2 separate regions of the Homo sapiens genome follow, and region 2 is linked to region 1. Evidence: promoter capture Hi-C in human tissues and cell types (Jung and others, 2019). All regions are on one chromosome and are shown on one strand. Each heading gives the region's core, a stretch centred on a gene start or on the middle of the fragment in contact. The rest is flanking DNA. Distances are from core to core; before and after follow the strand shown. Region 1 holds the start of LSM14A (LSM14A mRNA processing body assembly factor). Region 2 holds the start of GPATCH1 (G-patch domain containing 1).

Region 1 (3,892 bases), core at 399-2,898:
ACTATCTCAAAATGTTTACATTCTAGTGAAGGAGACAGATACATACAAATAATTAAACAGACATACTTGAGAGAGATACATGCTATAAAGAAAATACAAGCTGAGTTAAGGAGATGAGTGGTATTATTTTAAACAAGGCTGTCAGGGACGTCATCTCTGGAGGTGATGCTTGAGCAGAGACTGGAATAAAGTGCTCAAGTACTGGTTGAATTAGACGCGACTGGAACAGAACGAGAAGCTAAATCATGTATATCCTTAGACACCAAAGTCTGGTTTTCTCTCTGTGTAACATGGGATCAGTAGAGTGAGTAGAGGAAGGACATGATCTGAGTTAGATTTTTTTTTTTTTTTTTGAGACGGAGTCTCGCTCTGTCGCCCAGGCTGGAGTGCAGTGGCACAATCTCGGCTCACCACAACCTCCGCCTCCTGGGTTCAAGCAATTCTCCTGCCTCAGCCTCCCAAGTAGCTGAGACTATAGGCGCGCGCCACCACGCCTGGCTAATTTTTTTATATTTTTAGTAGAGACGGGGTTTCACCATGTTGGCCAGGCTGGTCTCGAACTCCTGACCGGTGATGCGCCCGCCTCGGGCCCCCAAAGTACTGGGAGTACAGGCGTGAGCCACTGCGCCCAGCCCTGAGTTAGATTTTAAGAAGATCTCTCTGGCTGCTGTATTGAGAATAAAGTACTGGGGGCAAGAGTTGACACAGAGGCAACTTTTAGAAGGCTACTGCAATAATTCAGCCCGAGTAATCGTGGCTTGTGGGAGAAGTGTAGGAATGGAGATGAGAAGTCAGATTTAGGATATATTGTGTATACATAACGGAGAGGTGTAGTCAGAACAGATGTGGAAGCAAGACAGGGCAAGGCTGACTCACGGCTTTTAGTCTGAGCAGCTGAGTAAAAATGGTACCGTTTACATCAAATAGGGAACGGTGGTGAAGGAGCAGGTTAGAGGGGAAACAGGGAGCATGGCTTTGGACCCTTAACGTTTGAGATTCGACAGAAACCCTGGTTCACGGAATTGATCCAAGCTACATACTGATAATTGGGATTAGTGAGTTACAATGGCGTTGCAAGCCATGAAACTGGTTCAGACCGGCTGAATGAGCGGGACAGGAAGGGGCTGAAACACTTGAGTCCTTGTGAGAGCCCCAGCTCCAGGGGCAGCCTCGGGGGAAGCTCCCCGGGCGATGACTGCGGTAATGGAGCCGTAGGAGCTCCACGAGGTGCAGGTTCAGCGTCTTAGAAGGATGAGCAGCGGCTCGCCACAGCTCGGAGGCGGGTGGGCAGCGCTCCAGGCCGAGGGCCCCGCGTCGGCAAAGACACAGGACCCACGACAAGGCGGCCACGGCCTGAGTCAAAAGGAAGGCCGCGCGCCTCCTCTCCAGCCCGCAGCAAGCGGGTGCCACGAGGCACTCAGCCGGTCCCCGAAGTTCCTCTCACGCGGCCCCAAGACCACCACCGTAGTCCAGGCCAACAAGCGCTGCCGGGACTCCCGAGGCCACGAATGAGCCGGGAGCCACCAGTAGCCGGCCAAGTCTCGCGAGAGCGCGGCCTCGCCCTCCCAGCATGCCCCGCGCCGCCGCCGCTGCCGCCGCCGCCGCCGCCGCCGCGCCGCGGCTTGAGGGCGGGAGGCTGGGGGAGGGTAGCGGAGCCGGCGCCGCCGCCATGTTGGGTCTGAAGCGGCTGCTGTAGGCGCCGACGGAGCGAGCGGGCGTGCGGAGCGGGCGACAGTGGCGTGGGATCTGCCTCTCTGCGAGCAGCTGGGAGCGGCGGCGGCGGCGCCATGAGCGGGGGCACCCCTTACATCGGCAGCAAGATCAGCCTCATCTCCAAGGCGGAGATCCGCTACGAGGGCATCCTCTACACCATCGACACCGAAAACTCCACCGTAGCCCTTGCCAAAGGTACGCGGGACCGGGCCTCAGGGTGGGGGCCGAGCCGGGCGCCGCTCGGGGCTGCTCCCCGCTCCGGCCCGCGGCCTCCTCGTTCCCTCCCCTCCCTCCGTCGAGCTCCGGGAGGCCTCTCGCCTCCCTTCTCCGGGCCCCGGCGTCGCGGGCCGGACCGCGGCCTCCCCGCGGCTCCCTGGTTTCCGCCCCCCGGAATGTCCGCGCCTGAAGCCCGGGGAACTACGGGACTGAGTGCGCGGCGGGCGGCCCTGAAGTCCGAGAACGGGCCGGAGAACACGGAGAAACGCGTCTTCCAACTCCGAAATTCGGGGCTTCTGCCGTCTTAGCACAAAACAAAGCCGGAGTATTCAAAGAATTTTTCCGCCCAGCTTGAGTTCATCGCGGATGCGTTGACTACACAGCACCCATTTTCTCACTTTGTTCATTTCAATTCGTGGCGATCTTCCTCTGGTGAACTCTTGAGTAATGTGCTAAAACTTTGGGTTTGCTCTGCGACGCAGACATTCTCGAAATGCCATCGATGCCGTGGAGCAGATCCCATCTCCCTCGGCTCATCCTCTGTTGGTATTTACCTGTTAAACCGGAATCCTCAAAGCCTGTTGTGCAACCACCTCATTAGGGCGCGTGGTAAAAATGCTTGCTGCTGCCCCGACGCCCCTGTTTCTGGAAACGGGTTCAAGCTTGATCCAGGATCCTTCTTGACCAGGCAAGCTTGACCTTTGATCCAGGCTCAGTGGGCGTTGACTGATCCCTCTGGAGGCTCTCTGGGAAAGGGAATTCGGCCGAGAAGGAAGGTGCCCCTACCCACAGTGTTAATATTTGGCATCCCTAGAGTCTGTGTGGGTTTTGTTTCCGTTCACACGTGCAGGGCCTTTGCTCCGCCAGGAAACCAGAAAGAAAATAAACTTTAGCTCCTGAATCTTAAAGGAAATCTCACAACAGTGTAAAATACTTTGAGGGAAGCTAGATAACCTAGGTGATTTTCCCAGCACTTCTGGTAGAGGTGGGAACTGCATAGCATGGTTAGGGACCCTGTGGATAGGTTAGGTCCAAGGATAAAGAAGAAGATTTTCGAAATCTGTAAAATTTTAAAAATCGTTAACAGATAGGGGAGTGGTTTCACGGGATCAAGTATTTAATAATATTTCTTGGATGCTCTGGTAAATCCTTTATTTATTTATTTATTTATTTATTTTTCTAAGATGGAGTTTAGCTCTTTTTGCTCAGGCTGGAGTGCAAAGGCAATGATTTCGGCTCACTGCAACGTCCGCCTCCCGGGTTCAAGTGATTCTCCTGCCTCAGCCTCCCAAGTAGCTGGGATTATAGGCGCCTGCCACCACCCCTAGCTAATTTGGTATTTTTAGTAGAGACGGGGTTTCACCATGTTGGCCAGGCTGGTCTCGAACTCCTGACCTCAGGTGATCCACCCGCCTCGGCCACCCAAAGTGCTGGGATTACAGGCATGAGCCACCGCGCCCAGCCTCTGGTAAATCTTTTTAATAGCCCTGGTGTTGGGACAAATCTTATACCTGGGTAGGGAACCTTTTGATGTTACAGAACTGTACACCATAAAGGAGTAGTATGAGATGGTGATAGTTGCACAACTCTGCAAATTTGCTGAAGATCATTGAATTATACACTTTTTAAAATCACCAAGTCTAATTTTAAAAGTAGTATGAAAAACCAGGGAGTACCCCCACATTTCCCTCTTCACCTTGTGAAACATTATGCAGTGACACATTACCTCATTAAAACACCTGTAGACTTGGCGGTTAGAAATCGGCTATAGGATGTATGATGGATGGTATTTGGTGTTTATTAAAGACTTTCCCAGTGATGCTTCTTAAGTAACTTAGTTTTTGCTTGGCCTTATTTTGAATTTATTTTTATATTTTTTATACAATAGTTACTTAGCTGTATAGTGTTTTTCTGGCTTTTTGAAATTATGAAAAAGCCTCTCTTTATGAAATTATGAAAAGTG
Region 2 (3,892 bases), core at 670-3,169, 1.1 Mb before region 1:
TAAGTTGTTCTACCATAAAGACAAATGCATGCATATATTCATTGAGGCACTACTCACAATAGCAGAGACATGGAACCAACCTACATGCCCACAAATGGTGGACTGGATAAAGAAAATATGGTCCACATACACCATGGAACACTACACAGCCATAAAAAAAGAACAAGACTGGCCAGGCGTGGTGGCTCATGCCTGTAATCCCAGCACTTTGGGAGGCTAAGATGGGCGGATCACGAGGTCAGGAGATCGAGACCATCCTGGTTAACACGGTGAAACCCCGCCTCTACTAAAAATACAAAAAATTAGCTGGGTGTGGTGGCAGGCGCCTGTAGTGCCAGCTACTCGGGAGGCTGAGGCAAGAGAATGGCGTGCCTGGGGGACAGAGCGAACTCCGTCTCAAAAAAAAAAAAAAAAAGAAACAACAAGACCATGTCCTTTGCAGCAACATAGATGCAGCTGGAGGCCATTATCCTAAACAAACTAATGCAGGAACAGAAAACCAAATACTGCATGTTCTCACGTATAAGTGGGAGCTAAACATTGAGCACACATGGACATAAAGAAGGGAATGACAGGTGCCAGGCGCAGTGGCTCACGCCTGTAATACCAGCATTTTGGGAGGCCGAGGCGGGTGGATCACTTGAGGTCAGGAGTTCAAGACCAGCCTGGCCAACATGGTGAAACCCAGTCTCTACTAAAAATACAAAAAAAAAAAAAAAAAAAAAAAAAAATGGCCGGGTGCGGTGGCTCACATCTGTAATCCCAGCACTTTGGGAGGCCAAGGTGGATGGATCGCCTGAGGTGGGGAGTTCGAGACCAGCCTGACCAACATGGACAAACCCCGTCTCTACTAAAAAAAAAATTACAAAATTAGCCAGACATAGTGGTGCATGCCTGTAATCCCACCTACTAGGGAGGCTGAGGCAGGAGAATCGCTTGAACCCGGGAGGCGGAGGTTGAGGTGAGCCGAGATCGTGCCATTGCACTCCAGCCTGGGCAACAAGAGTGAAACTCTGTCTCAAGAAAAAAAAAAAAAAAACCACCACAACAACCAACCAACCAAACAAACAAAAATTTAGCAGGGCGTGGTGGGGTGGACGCTTATAATCCCAGCTATCAGGAGGCTGAGGCAGGAGAATCACTTGAATCTGGGAGGCGGAGGTTGCAGTGAGCTGAGATCGCGGCCACTGCACTCCAGCCTGGGCGACAGAGCGAGACTCTGTCTCAAAAAAAAAAAAAAAAAAAAAGGGAATAACACCAGGGCCTACTTGAGGGTGGACCTACTTGAGGGTGGAAGGTACGAGGAGGGTGAGGATCGGAAAAACTACCTATTGGGTACTATGCTTATTACCTGGGGAGGAAATAATCTGTAACCCAAATCCCTTGCGACATGCAATTTACCTATATAACAAACTTGCACATGTACCCCTGAACCCAAAATAAAAGTAAAAAATAATAATAATAAAAATAAAGCGAAGCCCCACGGGGCGAGCATGAAATCTGGGAGCTCAGCCATTTCCCTGGAGGTGGCTGGGTGGGCGGTGGGAGTGGACGGGGCTGGGCAGTGACTGCTGCCAAGGCAGGGGGCTGGCGCGAGGGACGGGGGTAGGGGGCTGGGCAGGCATCGGTGTCGCCTCGCAGGGAACAGTTGGGTGGCTTCCAGCTTATGCCAGGAGTCTCCTCCTCACCCGCACATCGCGGGGCTAGGATGGGATGTCGTGGCTGCCAAATCCTCCGAGGCAACTCCTGCCTGGGACGGCCTACCACAGGATGGGCCTGAGAATCCGGAGCGCAGGCTCGGGCCGCTAGGACACCTTCCCCCGCCCGCGGACCCAGCCTTCCAGCATCACCGGGGTTCGCGGAGGAGAAAGAGGAAAGGCGTTTGGCCTGCCAAGGCCGCCGTAGCGAGGGGGCGGGGCCCGGAAGAGCAGGATGGCGGCGCGGGACAGTGACAGCGAAGAAGATCTGGTCAGCTATGGGACCGGGCTGGAGCCTCTGGAAGAAGGTGCGGGCCGCGTGGGCCGGCGGAGCCTGTGGAAAACAGGCCAAGGGCCCAGGATTCGGGCCACAAAAGCACAAGTCGGTGCTGGACCATTGTTAGATCGTTCCCAGCGCTGGGAACACGGCGACGAGGGAGGCGTTAGCCGCGCTCTCGGGGTGCTCACCTTCTGCAGCGACAGAGAGAGGTTTACAGGGACGGGAGACACAAGCGTGGCCGAACAAGGGGGCGGCGAGATAGAAACAAGAAAATGACGGAATAGCTAGTGTGAGAGCGGGGGGTGCTCAGGCAGTGTCTTCCCCGAGAGAGGACGTTTGAGCTCAGACTTGAAACCGAGGAAGAAAACAACCATGAGCAAATCTGGAGGGAAAGCATTTCAGGCAGAAGGAACATAAAGTGGCAAAGGCCCTGAAGTGGGAGCCAGTTTAGGAAATTGAGGGGCAGGCAGGACGGGTATGGTTGCAGCAGATGACAGCGGGGGAGACAGGTAGAAAAGAATGTCAGAGGGGCTGACAGGGGCTGGATCTTACTTGGTAGGGTAAAGAGTTTGGATCTTGTACTAAGTGCAGGATTAGGGTTAGGGTTAGGGTCATGGGAAATTACACAGGGAGGGATATATATATGATTTTTAGAGACAGGGTTTTGCTCTGTTTCCCAGGCTGGTCTTGAACTCCTGACTTCAAGTGATCCTCTCGCTTCTGCCTCCCAAAGTGCAGGGATTACAGGCTTGAGCCACTGTGCTCGGCCAATTTTTAATGTTATTCTATCTTTGATGTTGAGAATACACTGGTTGGGGATGGGTAAGAGTGAAGCAGGGAGATTAGCAAAAAGAGGTCAGGAGATGATGGTGGCATGGATGGGACAGCAGTGGTGGTGGTGTGTAGTGGTCTGGGTGGAGATATATTTTGAAAGCAGAGCTGACCATACTTGCTGGTGGAATGTGGGGGTGAGGGGCAAGATGAATCAAGGTTCTCTCCTGTGTTTCTGGTCTGTTCCACTTAACGACTTGACTTGTTCAGCAAGTTATGTATTGAGTGTCCAGTAAGGGCTGTTGGCTGTGCTAGCCCTGTAGGGAAGGCAGAGGAAGAATGGTGGAATCATTGGGCCACAATTTATTTGCAGACCTCCTGTTGGTGGGGGTCCCCTCCCTTTTTTCACCCTGACCACATCCTGCCAGGTTGATTGTACTTCTGGGATATCTCCACTTATGCCCCCTTTATTTCCTACAAACAGTTCTGGTGGAAACTTCTGCTGGATACTGGCCCTTCTTCTACCCTCGGCTTACAAAAGGTTGAGAAAGGGGCCAGGCACAGTGGTTCACACCTGTAATCCCAGCACTCTGGGAGGCTGAGGTGGGAGGATTGCTTGAGGTCAGGAGTTTGAGACCAGCCTGGGCATTGTAGTGAGACTCTGTCTGTAACAAACAAACAAACAAACGAAACAAAAGGCTGAGAAAGGCTAGTCTTCCGAATGCTTTTTATGTGTTTGAAGTCAGCTGTTGCATTTTCTTAAGACATCTCTGTTCTACACTCACTATCCCAAGTTCTTTTTTTATAGAGACAGGGTCTTGCTGTGTTGACCATGCTGGTTTCAAACTCCTGACCTCAAGCGATGCTCTCACCTTGGCTTCCCAAAGTGCTGGATTGCATGCATGAGCCACAGTGCCCAACATTTTTTATTTTAAAAATAGAGATGAGGCCGGGCGTGGTGGCTCACGCCTGTAATCCCAGCACTTTGGGAGGCCGAGGCGGGCAGATCGCGAATTCAGAAGATCCTAACCATCCTGGCTAACACGGTGAAACCCCGTCTCTACTAAAAATACAAAAAAAAATTAGCTGGGCGTGGTGGGGGGGGGCTCATGTAGTCCCAGCTACTCGGGAGGCTGAGGCGGGA

The links. The method cuts DNA at HindIII sites, captures the fragments that hold promoters and counts their contacts. A contact is called where the count stands out against the background at its distance.
Region 2: the fragment with the promoter of GPATCH1 here is called in contact with the fragment with the promoter of LSM14A in region 1 in 1 of the 25 tissues and cell types used here (dorsolateral prefrontal cortex).

Annotation. Positions count from the first base shown.
Region 1 is chr19:34,170,856-34,174,747 of GRCh38, forward strand. It overlaps LSM14A (LSM14A mRNA processing body assembly factor), which reads left to right and starts at 1,649. Exons shown (of 10, transcript NM_015578.4): 1 at 1,649-1,908. The coding sequence starts at 1,788. The HindIII fragment of the contact is 14,704 bases long and covers 1-3,892 here.
Region 2 is chr19:33,079,262-33,083,153 of GRCh38, forward strand. GPATCH1 (G-patch domain containing 1) reads left to right here and starts at 1,920. Exons shown (of 20, transcript NM_018025.3): 1 at 1,920-2,005. The coding sequence starts at 1,933. RefSeq lists enhancers at 1,815-2,144, 3,780-3,892. The HindIII fragment of the contact is 22,582 bases long and covers 1-3,892 here.